Regions from separate parts of the Homo sapiens genome. Here region 2 is linked to region 1. The links are contacts of gene promoters, found by promoter capture Hi-C in blood cells and fetal thymus (Javierre and others, 2016). All regions are on one chromosome and are shown on one strand. Each heading gives the region's core, a stretch centred on a gene start or on the middle of the fragment in contact. The rest is flanking DNA. Distances are from core to core; before and after follow the strand shown. Region 1 holds the start of ANKRD29 (ankyrin repeat domain 29). Region 2 overlaps LAMA3 (laminin subunit alpha 3).

What was found. Contacts are between HindIII fragments. The CHiCAGO score rates a contact against its expected background, and 5 or more counts as called.
Region 2: a contact is called between a fragment that was not itself captured here and the fragment with the promoter of ANKRD29 in region 1, in 3 of 17 cell types (M0 macrophages, M1 macrophages and total CD8 T cells). The highest score is 7.6, in M0 macrophages.

What each region holds. Positions count from the first base shown.
Region 1 is chr18:23,657,756-23,665,471 of GRCh38, forward strand. It overlaps ANKRD29 (ankyrin repeat domain 29), which reads right to left and starts at 5,156. Exons shown (of 10, transcript NM_173505.4): 1 at 4,955-5,156. The coding sequence starts at 4,975. The HindIII fragment of the contact is 8,557 bases long and covers 1-5,512 here.
Region 2 is chr18:23,921,761-23,929,476 of GRCh38, forward strand. LAMA3 (laminin subunit alpha 3) reads left to right here. Exons shown (of 75, transcript NM_198129.4): 63 at 6,363-6,480; 64 at 6,865-7,005. Among named protein-coding and RNA genes, the nearest start is that of LINC02958, 57 kb to the right of the region's middle. The HindIII fragment of the contact is 3,473 bases long and covers 366-3,838 here.

The sequences.
Region 1 (7,716 bases), core at 3,906-6,405:
GTGCTTCATTCCTTTTTATGGCTGAATGATAGTCCATTGTACAGATTACCATGTTATGGACTAAATGCTTGTGTTCCTCCCCAAATTCATATGCTGAAGCCCTAACCACCAATGTCTTGCGAGCCCAATCCCCTGCCCGAGTTGGTCCAGAAAGCAGGACCCACCACTCAGTGAGTTCAGAAGGCAAAGCACTGAACCAAAGAGGATTATTCTCAAACTTTAAGTTCTAATAATATTTGCCTTGCTAGGTATTGGACTTGCTTGTGACCTGTCATTCCTTTCTTCCAATTTCTCCCTTTTGGGGTGGAAACATGTATATCCTATGCCTGTCCCACTGTCGTATTTTAGAACCACAAAACTTGTTTGAGGACTAGGCATGGTGGCTCACACCTGTAATCCCAACACTTTGGGAGGCCAAAGCAGGAGGATTGCTTGAGTCCAGGAGTCTGAGATCAGCCTGGGCAACACAGGGAGACCCCTATCTCTACAAAAAATAAAAAATATTAGCCAGGCATGGTGGTGCAAGCCTGTAGTCCCAGCTACTCGGGAGACTGAGGCAGGAGGATCGCTTGAGCCCAGGAGGTCAAGGCTGTAGTGAATCGTGATTGTGCCAGCCTGGGCAGGCGACAGAGTGAGACCCTGTCTCAAAACAAAAGCAAAAACAAAAACAAAAAACTTGTGTGATTTCACAGGCTCACAGCTAGAGAAGAATTTCACTTGGGATGAATCATACCTTGAGTCTTACCCAATATCTGATTTAGATAGTTAGATGAGACTGTGGATTTTAGAGTTGATGCTGGAACTAGCTAAAACTTTGGGGACTGTTGGGATGGAATGAATATATGTTGCACGCAAGACAGACATGCCAGGAGGACAGGGGCTGAGGACTGAATGTTTGCATCCCCCCAAAAATTCATGTGTTCAAGTCCTAATGCCCAGTGTAATGATTTTAGGAGGAGCAGTCTTCGGGAGTCAATTAAGTTTAAAAGAGGTTGTGTAGGTATAGCCCCCATGATGGAATTAATGTCCTTAAAAGAATTAGAGACACCAGGGCTTTCTCTCTTGGTCATGTGAGGAAACGGGGCATGCACAGGTGGCCATCTGTAAGTCAGGAAAAGTGCCCTCACCAGCCACCTTGATCTCAAGACTTCCTAGCTCCAGAACTGTGAGAAATAAATGTCTGTTGTTTAAGCCTCCCTATCTATGGTATTTATAATATAAAACACTTTTTTTTTGTTTGTTTTGAGACAGAGTCTCACTCTGTCACCCAGGCTGGAATGCAGTGGTATGATCTTGGCTCACTGCAACCTCTGTCTCTAGGGTTCAAGTGATTTTCCTGCCTCAGCCTCCCCAGTAGCTGGGATTACAGGCACCTGCCATGACGTCCAGCTAATTTTTGTATTTTTAGTAGAGACGGGGTTTCACCACGTTGGCCAGGCTGGTCTTAAACTCCCGACTTCAGGTGATCCGCCACAGCTTCCCAAAGTGCTGGGATTACAGGGATGAGCCACTGTGCCTGGCCCACATTTTGTTTTTATCATCAGTTTATGGACATTTGGATTGTTTCCACTTTCTGACTATTATGAATACTATTGCTATGGATCTTTATGTTCAAGTTTTTGTGTGAACACGTTTCCATTTCTCTTGGGTATATTCCTAGTAGTGAAATTGCTGGGTCATGTGGTAACTCTATATTTAACTTTTTGAGGCTGGGTGCGGTGGCTTATGCCTGTAATCCCAGCACTTTGGAAGTCTGAAGCAGGTGAATCACGAGGTCAAGAGATCGAGACCATCCTGGCCAACATGGTGAAACCCGGTCTCTACTAAAAATACAAAAATTAGCTGGGCATGGTGGCGCATGCCTGTAGTCTCAGTGACTCAGGAGGCTGAGGCAGGAGAATTGCTTGAACCCGGGAGGCAGAGGTTGCGGTGAGCTGAGATCGTGCCACTGTACTCCAGCCTGATGACAGAGTGAGACTCCATCTCAAAAAAGACAAAAAAAAAAACAAAAAACAAACAAACAAAAAAAACTTTTTGAAGAAAGACAAGCATGGTTTTAAAAATGACTGCATCGGCCAGGCGCGGTGGCCCACGCCTATAATCCCAGCACTCTGGGAGCCCGAGGCAGGCAGATTACCTGAGGTCAGGAGTTCAAGACCAGCCTGGCCAACATGGTGAAACCCCGTCTCTACTAAAAATGCAAAAATTAGCCGGGCGTGGTGGCACATGCCTGTAATCCCAGCTACTCGGGGGGCTGAGGCAGGAGAATTGCTTGAGCCCGGGAGGCAGAAGTTGCAGTGAGCTGAGATCATGCCATTGCACTCCAGCCTGGCTGACAGAGTGAGACTCTGTCTCAAAAAAATAAATAAAATAAATAAATAAAAATGACTGCATCACTTCATACTCCTACCAGCAATGCATGCAGATTCAATTTCTCCACATCCTTGCCAACATTCGTCATTGTCTTGCTGATTAAAGCCATCCTAGCGGGTATGAAGTGGTATCTCATTACAGTTTTGTATTTGCATTTCCAAGACCATGGCTAATAATGTTAAGCATCTTTTCAGGTGCTTACGGGCCATTTGTAAACTTCTTGGGAGAAATGTCTATTCATATGTCCACTTTAAAATTAGGCTTTATTTGTCTTTTTATTGTTGAAGTGCCTATCATCATTTAAAGATGCTCAAGTCTCTACCATTTTAAAGCAAACAAACACTTGGTCAATTCCAGATCCTTGCTGCAGCCACTGCCTTTTAAAAAGAATCTCTGGGTTGGGTGCCGTGGCTCATGCCTCTAATCCCAGCACTTTGGGAGGCTGAGGCGGGCGATCACGTGAGGTCAGGAGTTCGAGACCAGGCTGGCCAACATGGCGAAACCCCGTCTCTACTAAAATTACAAAAAATTAGCTGGGCTTGGTGTCAGGCACCTGTAATCCCAGCTACTCAGGAGGCTGAGCCAGGAGAATCGCTTGAACCCGAGAGGCAGAGGTTGCAGTGAGCCAAGATTGCGCCACTGCACTCTAGCCTGGGTGACAAGAGCAAGACTTTGTCCAAACAAACAAACAAACTAACAAAAATCTGTTTCTTGCAGAATTTCTTGAAAGAGTTCTCCACACTTGTGGATTCTACCCACTCTCTTTCAAGCTATTGCAATCTGGCTCCTGATCCTAACACCACTGAAAGTGCTCTTGGCAAGGTCACCAGTGCCTATTCCGTCACTAAATCCAATGGACTTTTCAATTCTTTGTTTATTTGATTTCCCTGTGGCATTAATAAACATCAAGGTCCTCTTCATCTTTGTTGAAAGATTAGAGATGCTTGGTGTAAGTGACAGCACATGCTTCTGAGTTTTCTCATTCGTCTCTGGCTGCTCTTTCTCAAATCTTCTTCAAGATTTTGTCCTCAGTCCTCTTATTTTCCACCTTTATATGGTTCCACTGGGCAATCATGTTCATTCCCATGGGTGCCTACTTAACACTGCTGACTCCTAAATCTCATCTCTAGCTGCTGCCCAGACTTGCCTCCTGGGATCGAGGAGAGTATATCTGTCTAATCAACATCTCTGCTTGGATTCCCATCTATCCTCAAAATTTATCCCAAACCAAACGTTTTATCTTTATCTCTCTTGCCTTCCCTACTGAATTATGCCGATTTAAAACTTTTAAAGTCGGCCGGGCGTAGTGGCTCACGCCTTTAACCCCAGCACTTTGGGAGGCCAAGGAGGGTGGATCACCTGAGGTCAGGAGTTCGAGACCAGCCTCGCCAACATGGCAGAACCCCGTCTCTACTAAAAATACGAAAAAATTAGCTGGGCATGGTGGCGCACGCCTGTAATCCCAGCTACTCTGGAGGGTAAGGAAGGAGAAATAGCTTGAACCCGGGAGGCGGAAGTTGCAGTGAGCTGAGATCACACCATTGCACTCCAGCCTGGGCAACAAGAGCAAAACTCCGTCTCAGGAAAAAAAACTTTAAAGTCATTCACATTCGTCTGCTTCGTTCCATTCTCACCACCTATGCACTGGTCCAGTACCATTTCTTAAAAAGATGACAACATCTTCCAGCTCCAACCCTCTTCTCCAAACCTAGCCAGAGATCTTTGCAACATGCACATCTCGCCATGTCACTCCTCTGCTTACATGAGCTATTGTCGGCAACGGGATTACAGTGGCTTAGGAGTCAGACACACTTGGGTTTCAGTCTTAACACCATAACTTATTGGCTGCAAAACCGTGGGTGAGTTAATTTCTCTATATCTTAGTTTTCTCATTTGAAAAAAAAAAAAAAAAGAGCCACGAAGAGCACCTCCCACAGGTCTCCCCCAGGGTTGAGACCATACACACCATGTCCTTGGTTCAGAGTCAGGCACATTTGAACTGTTTAATACATTTTAACTGCTATTTTTATTAAACCCTTTCAATCGAGGCAAATCAACCTCTTTCATCCTAAAATGTGGGGATTAGATGGAATGACTTTAATCAACTCTTTTGAGACAAGACACCTTTGGACCCTGAAGCCTCCCTGGGTGCTGGCCACCCCTCCGGGGAGGAGGCATCCGTGGGTGCAGCTGGTACTCCTGCATGAGGACCCAGAGGGTCAGGGTCGGGGACTCCTTCTGCTGCAGGACAGCGCTGACCCCAGGCTTCTTACCCGCCCCCGACCTGTTACCCGGCGACAGTCCCCGCCGCCCCGTCGCCGGGCACAGACTCAGCCGATCCACAGCCATGAGTGCGAAGCCTCTCAGGCAGGGCAGGCAGGCAAACCGCAAACCCACAGGGCGCACCCAGCCCCGCCGCTTCCTCCCGGGCCTCGCCCGCAGCTGGAGGAGAGAGGAAGGAGGAGGCGGCGGGCAGCGGGCAGCGCCCACCCCATCCCACCCCATCCCACCCCACCCGACCCCGCGGGCCCGGCCGCCCGAGCCCGGCCCCAGCCCTGACCCCGGAGTCCCGGTCGCTCACCTTGAAGGACATCCTGCACATGTCCGCGGCCGCCCGAGCGGGAGCCGGCGCGCTTTGGGCCCGGGGCGCCTTGTCCTCCCCGGCCCTTCACTCTCCCGGGGCTCTCGGCGTTCCGCAGAGGGGCGGCCTCCGACGCCGCGCGCTCCCGCCGCCCGGCCCGGCAGCAGCCGCCGCACACAGGGCCGGGCCGAAGGGGCGGCGCGGGGGCGCGCGCGCGCGCACACTACACATGGGGTGTCGCGTGGACGCGCTCCAGGACCTGCCACACACGCGCGTGCACAAACACCCCAAACTCCGCACGCACTGTGCACTTTCCACACACGTCCACACTTCCACACTCACTCGTCCACACACACACTCCAAACTCCACACACATTGTGCATACGCTCCACATTCCACACACACAGAGGTTCCACACACATACTTTCCACACTCACGCCCACTCACCCGCATGTACTCACACACAAACTCCATACATATCCTCCCAAATAGACTGGTCTGCCCCAGAGGACTCCCAACCTTCATTACAGCACAAATATTATAATGATGTAAAAATGAAGCTTGAGGAAAAAATTCATCCAATAGCTATTTTCGTTATAATTTCTTTCTCGGTTTCCTGGGAAACTTTTTTCTCCTGGGGAAAATATCTAGGAAACAAACCTTTTGATTGCACAAACAATAAGTGGTCTTTTCCTCTTTGAAGGGCAAAGGCCAATTTTGGAATAGACTCATACCCCTCCTCCTCCTCCGCGTTATTAATCCAGCAGTTCCCTCCTCCTCTGGGTCTGATGCTGCAGCCCTGGAGTATTGCAGTATGTGTGTCCACTCCTGCTGCCTGCCCAGGATTGGTTTGGGCGAAGTAAAACTGGGAGTTTTAAGTATAAACGGCAACAACAGCTCTTTGAGAGCATTTTAGAAAAGTGAAAGTAAAAAAGTAGCCCAGGCATAGTGGCTCACGCCTATAATCCCAACTCTTTGGGAGGCCAAAGGCGGGCAGATCACTTGAGTCCAGGAGTTCGAGATCAGACTGGCCAACATGGCAAAACTCTATCTCTACTAAAAATACAAAAATTAGCCAGGCGTGGTGGTGCGCACCTGTAGTCCCAGCTACTCGGGAGGCTGAGGTGGGAGGATCGCTTGAACCTGGGAGGTTGAGGCTGCAGTGAGCCAAGATTCGGTCACTGCACTCCAGCCTGGGCAACAGAGCAAGACTCTGCCTCAAAAATAAAAATAAAAACAAAACAAAAAAATAGTATAAAAATGGAGGTCTTACCCCCTCAAACTATAAGAATCCACTCATTCATTCTCCCCCTCCTTCCCTCTTCTCAATTAAATTTGTAACGAATATTTAATTTAAAAGGTAGAAAACAATTACAAATAAAAGTTAATGATAAAAATTAAAATGTTTAACCTTCATGGATAAATTGTATTACTTTGTGCTTAAAACAACTTTAAATTAAAAACATTCTGAACTTTTATAGAAAATTCCAATTTTAAAAATAAGGACTCTAAACATTTTCCTTGCCTTGAGTGCCTATAAATGACACAGTTTTTAAGTTGCCACACAACGTTATTATATAAAAATCAAGCATCAGAGGTTTTGCTTTAATAGTTTTTTGTTTGTTTGTTTGTTTTTTCTTCTCAGATGGAGTTTCGCTCTTTTGCCCAGGCTGAAGTGAAGTGGCATGATCCTGGCTCACTGCAACCTCCACCCCCCGGGTTCAAGCAATTCTCCTGCCTCAGCCTCTCGAGTAGCTGGTATTATAGGCTCCTGTCACCGTGCCCAGCTAATTTTTGTATTTTTAGTAGAGACAGGGTTTCGCCATGTTGGCCAGGCTGGTCTCGAACTACTGACCTCAGGTGATCCACCTGGTTCGGCCTCCCAAGGTGCTAGGATTACAAACGTGAGCCACCGCGCCTGGTCTGCTTTAATAGTTTTGATAAATAAAAGGGAGAAAGGAAAGAACTAATATTTTGAGTGTTTTCTAGGTACAAGGTGCTTTCCTTATAAACATTTTATGGGGTGAGTATTAACCCATTCCACGGATGAAAAAACTAAGATTCTGAGAGATTGGAGTAATTTGCTAATAAGTGATAGGGCTAGGTGTTTGTCTAGCTCCAAAGCCTGTTTCCTTTCCGTTACACTTGAGCTCAAAGCTGCTTTTCTCTGGCCAGGGTGCTGATGGGATTCTTGTCAGTCTCTGGAAAGAACGTGCCTAACACCGTCTGACACACGCGGTTAAACTCATCTTCATATAAACAGCTCTGAAATGGAACAAAGCTCTCATGGTCACAACAGGCAATTCTTTCTAAAATGGTCCACTCCAAACTTTAATAGTGACCCACTGGACCTAATACAAGATTTAATCTGCACGGCCCAGTTTTCTTATCCAAACATCTTCTCACTACCCAAACAGAGCCTCTCCATCCTTGTCATCCTGTCAAACAAAAGGGATAAAGGAAAAAACTAATATTTTGAGTGTTTTCTAGGTACAAGGTGCTTTCCTTATAAACATTTTATGAGGTAGGTATTATACCTATTCCATAGATGAAAAAAGTAAAATTCTGAGAAAATGGAATAATTTGCTAATAAGTGATAGAGCTAGGCGTTTGTCTAGCTCCAAAATCTTATCACTGCTCTCTTCCCACTACGGCTCTCTTTCATCTCCTCTCTTTTGTCTGCCAAATCCCAACCTACCCAGGGTGTTACCCCCAGCTCAAGTTCCTCTTCCTACACCCTGGTTCTCAGTCATCTTCCTCCC
Region 2 (7,716 bases), core at 852-3,351, 260 kb after region 1:
GACTGGGCAGTGGAAAGAAGGAGGGTGGGGGAATGTGTGTCACCGCCATTGTCATTCTCGGGAGGGGAGGGACCACGAAGGGTATAGTTGGGTTAACAATGCTGGCAGCAAGTAGAACAGAGGCTGTGGCCCTGGGCCCTTGAAGGCTGCATAGGAGAGCGTGGGCCTCCCAAGGCCTGACAGACATCCCTGGGGAACTGAAAGCTGAGGTTGCCACCTTCAGGGAGCCTCTGGAAGAATGTGAAACAGTATGTCTCCTTCACTTCGGCATCAGCTGCTCCTTACATGCTATCGAGCGTGGAATTGTTACGTAACTGTTTCTTGGATGAGTGAACACATGAATTAATTAATGTGAAAGGCAGTAAAGCTTTATCTGAATGGGAAAAATCCCACCATTTTGGAATGCACGTAAAAATAACTTTTACATTTTGATCATTTGTATCCTCCCGGAAGGCTTTTAGATAGCTGACGATAGTGTGTGGACAGAACATATCCTGGAAGGATTAGTGCAGCCTCATGACTAAGTAAGAGTGCTCCCAGAAGGTTAGGTTATGATGACTTTTATATGAGATCTGAAGCTAGTTAACTCTTTTGCTAACTTATACATCAGTTGGAAGGAACTAGAATATGATTTATAAGGTGTCATGCCAAGGTATTCTTTCTTCTAGAGTCCTTATACATGTGGGCGTCTGTCCATTCTACGTAGTCAGGTACTAATCTTTGTTTTAAAGTTGTCAGGGTTGCCTCCAAAGGCAAAAATGCAAATGGGAAAGCTGGGCACTTCAACAGAACCTGGGGGTGACATCTTTACTCCCTGGGCTCTGGAAGGAGCCTTGCAGATCATGGTATGTAGCCCCTGAGTTTTACAAATGAAGAAATTCAGAGCCAGTGAGATTATATTAATATTTAATATTATCAATATCAAATAGCAATTCAGCCATGAATAGCCAGTTATGAATTGTCAGTAAGATTGATTTTATTTCCATGAAATGGAATAAAATAAAATCGTTTAAGGTAGTTTTTTCGAGTACTTTTGAGTATGTTTGAGAGTTGCCACTTATTCATTCATTACACAGGATTTATTGAGTGCCTAATGGGCATCAGGCAGAGTGACAGGTGCCAAGAAGGCAACAATGAGCAGGGTGGAGCCTGGAGAAGAACAGAAGAGAGACAGTCACTACAGGAGAACATGACGTGTGCCATAGGAGGAAGCTCAGGGTGCTGACAGAGCCCAGGAGGGAACCTAATCCAACTGGGGCCATCAGGAAAGTGACCTCCAGCTGGGACCTGAGAGATGCTAGCAGTCAGTGTATGTGAAGCACCAAAGCTGGATAGAGAAAGCATGAACTTGCAAAGAGCTAGAGTACAGCAGGAAGTGGGATAGGGATGCCCCATGGGGCTGATGTGGGCAGCAGGGGCCTGACCACAGAGTACCTTGAAAGTCACAGTAAGGAGCCATTGGAGGGACTTCAGCAGAGAAAGGCCATGACCAAATTTGGGTTTTCAGTAGCTCACTCTAGTGCAGGGCAGAGACTGGATTAGAGAAGAAAAGGGCAGAGGCAGGTAGAGTGGCTGGAGGCCGAGTATATTAACAGAGGTGAGTGATGAGGGTGACCTGGCCCAAGGAGTGGTTATGCAGGTGAGCAACAGGGATCAGATTCCAAATATATTTAGGATGGTGAATGGGCAGCACTGCACAATGGCTTGGGTTGGGGAATAAAGGGGAAAAGCAGTCAAGAATGATGCCTGGTTTTTGGCTAAGCCCTTGGCAGATGGAACACACCAACGGAGGAGTGGGGTGAGAAGTTAAGTCTGAGACAGGCTTAGTCCAGGAGCCTGAGACACAGCCAGGTGGAGAGGCCCACAAGCAGGCGCACAAAATGGCCTGGGCCTCCAGAAAGGAGGCCAGTCTGGAGAAGGGTAAATGAAGCTCAGGGCCAGGTAGTCATTGAGGTGGTAGAGGCCAGTGGGCTTACCCAGAGCCAGGAGGAATTCTCAAGTTGAGGCAATAAGGAACCCATTGGTGGTGGTTTGTGTTTGCATGATATTAACACAAGGCCCCTAGACAGTGATGTGGATGCCAGTCAGTCCAGGTTTTCTAGAAAAGAGCAGTAGGTAGAACCACAAAAGAGGTGGCTTTAGTTTTGGCTCAGCAAAACTTTAGGTTAATTCAGCACTCAACCTTTATTTGCCTTTTCATCTCCATCCATTAAAGAAATATATAGATATAGAGATGCATATACATAGAGAATTTGCTTTTTTAAAACAATTTTTTGTAGAGATGGGGTCTTGCTGTGTTGCCCAGGCTGGTCTCGAACTTCTAGCCTCAAGTGATCCTCCCACCCCCAGAATTCTGGGGTTACAGGCGTGAGCCACTGTGCCCAGTCCAGAATTTTCTTTCTTTTTTTGAGACAAGAGTCTTGCTCTGTCACCCAGGCTGGAGTTCAGTGGCGCCATCTTGGCTCATTGCAACCTCTGCCTCCTGGGCTCAAGTGATTCTCCTACCTTGGCCTCCTGAGTAGCTGGGATTACAGGCATGTGTCACCATGCCTGGCTAATTTTTTGTATTTTTAGCAGAGACGGGGTTCCCCATGTTGTCCAGGCTGGTCTTGAACTCCTGAGCTCAGGTAGTCCACCCACCTTGGCCTCCCAAAATGCTGTGATTACAGGCATGAGCCACCATGCCTGGCCTAGAATTTTCTTAGTAACTTATTTTGGGATCCTCCAAACAAGGGACTGCTTCCTTTTTCTGGGCAAGTTTTATACTTTGACCTTTTTTTTTCTTTTTTTTTTTTTTTTTTGAGACGAGGTGTTGCTCTTGTTGCCCAGGCTGGAATGCAATGGCATAATCTCGGCTTACTGCAACCTCCACCTCCCGGGTTCAAGCAATTCTCCTGCCTCAGCCTCCCGAGTAGCTGGGATTACAGTGCCTGCCACCATGCCCGGCTAATTTTGTGTTTTTAGTAGAGACGGGGTTTTGCCATGTTGGTCTGGCTGGTCTCGAACTCCTGACCTCAGGTGATCCACCTGCCTCTGCCTCCCAAAGTGTTAGGATTACAGGCATAAGCCACCATGCACAGCCTATATTTTGACTTTTTATTAAAATCACTGGAACATGGAAAATGCAGGAGATAGAGGCCAGTCAAAAGATTTCACTGGCCCTTCACTCCCTCTAAAGCAAAATTCTAAGGAATAGTCAGCTGTTCTGGGTGTTGCCTCATCCCTGTGGTGAAGTCTTTGGTGGCCCAGAGATTCCTGAAACTGCCATTGGGCATGAGTCACTGGGAGGTGGGGTGGGCACAGAGGAGTTCCATGGATAATCCACAGCCAAGCTCTGTAGGGGCAACCAGCCAACGCTTCCAGAGCAGGGAGGTGTTCTGGTCCCTGGCATAAATGGAGGGACCTTTTAGACAAAGTTCTCAAACCTAACCTGGAGCAAGGCAAGCAAGTGTAATCACTAAATCAGCTTTGCTCAAGGGATTTTGTGCACGTTTTGTTTCTTCCCCCTCTCACTGTAGTGTTTCTTCTGGGAATGGGGACCCAGATCTTGGAATGGCTTGTTTCCGATTATAATCAGAAATCATTCTGTTAATCCCATCTCCTACCCAGGAGAAGAGCAAATCATCCCTGGTAATGCCAGAGGGTGTGACACCAACAAGGGCATTTTTCTTGAGGACCTACACCATTGTTTACAGAGTGTGATTATACACACTAAAATGAAAATGATCCAAAAAGTAGATCTATTGAACATCGACTAAGTACCCAACACCAAGATTAGGGCTGCCTTTTGTTCTTTTTGCTCTCTGAAGTCGGCCTGCAACAGCCATGGAGCTGGCTAAGCTTTTGTGGACAGATTGGCCCAAAGTATACATAAATACCCCAACGCAGGAACCCACCAACACAACAACTCATGCCCCAGTGCAATCACATTCCTCTAGCAAGTATGTTCAGACCCTGTATCCTGGAGTAAATGTAGAACTGTAGGTCCTCAGGTAAGCCAAGGTAACAAGAATCCCCCCAGGAATAGTGGAAGTAAATCTCTTCCATTTTAACACTTCTGCTGTAGGTAACTCTTCTAGAAAAAGGCATGATCACTTCCAAGTGCTGCAGGAATACCAACTGTAAGTGTAAAAAGCAAGGGCTTCAAGCCTCACTAACCTGTGTGACACACTGACAGTACAGACCCCAGCTCTACCACTTACCAGCTGTGTGACCTTAGGCAAGGCCTTAACCTCTTAATGCCTCATTGCTACATCTATAGTATGGGCATAGTAGCTGCCTATCTCTTAGGGTGGTTGGAAGATTCAGAGTGTGTAAAGGAATTAGCAGAGGTCAGCACATGGTCAGTGCTCAATAAATGTTAGATAAGAAAACCTGCCCTTCCTGCACATGTATCCTAGAACTTAAAATAAAATAAAATAATATAAAAGAGAAAATACCTCCCTCAAAAGCTTATTGTAAGTTGGATTCATAGAGCTTCGTGCAAAATAGGTGGTCTGTATCTGTTAACTGCCTTTCTCTCCTACTATTTTCCTTTTCTGCAACCTTCTTTCTTTGACCAATAATCTATGGAGAGAGGGACATCTGGAATGTCGTTGTCCAAGAGATATGTTGAAACCCAAAGAAGAATTGACCTAAAACCATGTATAAATAGGCAAGCTCCAGGAATGGAAATGAACCCTCCTCCTCTTCTGAGGCAAAAGGCCATCTTTATAAAATAATTAGGCTTATACTGTAATGCCAGTGAGGATTTGTTTCTTTCTTTTCCTTTTAATGAAATTTAATTTTAGGTCTATTACAGGTAGCTCAACTGTTTCTAATGAATTGGATTAAAATGAATGCAGACACCTTTCCATTTAGAAAAGTAAGCTGCATTAGGGATTTAGAATGAAATCAGCTTTGGGTTTTCTTAGTACATCATTTGTTTAAGAAACACAAATATTTGCCTGGACTTCAGTTAGTTCATGTGTGTGAATGCTTTATGTGCATTCAGCTCCAGACAGATCCAGAAGTCAAATCGAAGGGGAAATGCCCTGGGGCCATGTAGAAAGAGCTGCTTTAGAAATTGCTCTCATTATATAAGAGCAGTAATATGGGAGTAGTTACTAACTTGACGATCTCACATTGAGTCCTTACTCTGTACAAAACACTGTTTGAGTGTGTTACACATATTAACTTTCTTAGACTATGACAGCCCTATGAAACAGATTCACATATTCCCATTGTCTAAATGAGGAAACAGGCACGGAGAAAAGTTGCCTGTTCAATCAGAAGGGACAGAACTTGAACCCAGGCAATTTGGCTGGTCCAGAGCAGCACAATTTTGCCTCTCAGAAACACCTGCTGAGCATTCACGTCCAGGTGCCATGCACTGCTGCAAGCTCTTGCTGTACGTTAACTTGTTTTTTTGGTTTTGTTTTTGTTTTTTGAGGCAGAGTCTCGCTTTGTTGCCAGGCTGGAGTACAGTGGCACGATCTCAGCTCACTGCAACCTCCGCCTCCCGGGTTCAGATGATTCTCCAACCTCAGCTCCCGGGTAGCTGGGACTACAGGTGCCTGCCACCACGTCCAGCTAATTTTTGTATTTTTAGTAGAGTTAAGTTTTCACAATGTTGACCAGCCTGATCTCGAACACCTGACCTCAAGTGATCCACCTGACTTGGCCTCCCAAAGTGCTGGGATTACAGGCATGAGCCACCCCACCCGGCCCGTTAATTTTTTAAATCCTGGCAATAACCCTTTGCCCACAGGTAGGAGGTGGTAGATACAGCAGCATATGAACCCAGACAATGTGTTCCATTGTTTCAGCTTGGCATTGGTTAAATCAAGCTACGTTTTTCATAATTGAATAGAACCAAAAAGTAACACTTTGTTTCTTCTGACTTTACAGTGGCTAACTTAACAGTGAACAGAAAAAAAAGAGCAAAAGGTTTTCTAGAGCACTCCTGGTTCCTACAAATGATTTATTACTTTATTAATATATATGTATATCATATATCATCTATTAACTTATTAATACATGTCCTATCCACCTGCAATGCCGTGACTCCAGCGGGGAGGGACGGGCAGTTCTAGATATTGTGCATGTTCTCTGTCTCTTTACCTTTTGCGGCCACTGGCCATTCTTCTGTTAACATTGTTGTCTGCATTTTTAAAGCTGGGAATGTAAACTTACACAGAAAGGAAGTCAGTTCTCCCAGCATCATAAAATAAGTAGCATTATGGGAATCCCATGGGAAAGGATAAACATAAAACACCTACTCATTTATGGGTGAAAAGTACTAAAGAGCACAGCGTTTCAGCTCTGATTTCACGTGAGCCTGACATGATCCATCTCTTCCTTTTATCTGTGTTCGTAATCAGATTTAACATTTCTACGCCTGCTTTCCGAGGCTGCATGAAAAATTTGAAGAAAACCAGTGGTGTCGTTAGATTGAATGATACTGTGGGAGTAACCAAAAAGTGCTCGGAAGACTGGAAGGTAAGTGAAAGTTCAGAACCTCGTGAAGGAGTGCTTCCCAGCCAACCCACCTTCCGTATCCATTAACGCAGCAACTTTTGACTTCTTTCTGATAGCACACAGTGTTACAGTGAACTGGCTCATATACACTCCCCATGTGCTTGCAAGATGCTGAACCTTTTCAGGTTTGCACATTAACTTTGTAGGAAAGTAGGAAGACCAACTATATACACAAAAACTTACAGATGATTGCTGACTTATTATGCAGAAAAGTAAGCTCTCTTTCTTTCTGAGGTTACATAAATCACATTAATCAGTTTGAGTAAAGTGAGATAGGGTAAGGTACTGTATTTCAGCCAAGAAATGATTACAATGCCAGTAATTTATTCCATGTTTGCATTTCAGCTTGTGCGATCTGCCTCATTCTCCAGAGGAGGACAATTGAGTTTCACTGATTTGGGCTTACCACCTACTGACCACCTCCAGGCCTCATTTGGATTTCAGACCTTTCAACCCAGTGGCATATTATTAGATCATCAGACATGGGTATGCAGTAGTGCATTAATATCAAACAAGATTTAAACCTGACTCAAAGTTTGATGTTAAAAACAACAGAGAGATTTAGAAAGTGGTGGAGTTGTACATTTTTTCTATCATCACACAGTAAATGCTATTGTATAGTTCAACCATAAACGTTATTCCCCACTCTGGGGTAGGTCCTCAAAGAAATCAAGTTTAGAAAGTAACATTATAATTTACAGAGTTGCATTTGTGTGTACTCGCGGACTCATTTTTATTCTTTTCAGGTATATTTTATAATAAGAGTTAAGGTGGATTATAACTACTGTAGTTAATAATGTAGCTTAAAGTTTCAGAGCTCAGAAAGAAAATCAGAGTGTGTCCCTATGATTTCTTTTTGATTGCATTAAAGGTAGCTCTCTCCAGATTGCCTTTTTGCAGCAGCAGCAGCAGCAGCTAGTTGGACAATATTTATACCTGGGGAATTGGAGAAAATAAGATCCTTTTCTCTTTCCTCATGTACAACAGAGCCACATAAATTCTCTTCCACAAGGAGATACCATCTGTAACTTAAGCAGATTTAGCTAGTGTGGTTATGTAGATACAGAAGTCACCTAATATTTAGAAATGAATATTTGTGGAATGAGTGGAATTTTTAAATAGAAGTAGAGTATGATTATTTCTGAATTTGTTTCTTTAGGATTGCAGAGCACAGCAGACTTCTAGTATCTGTCAAGA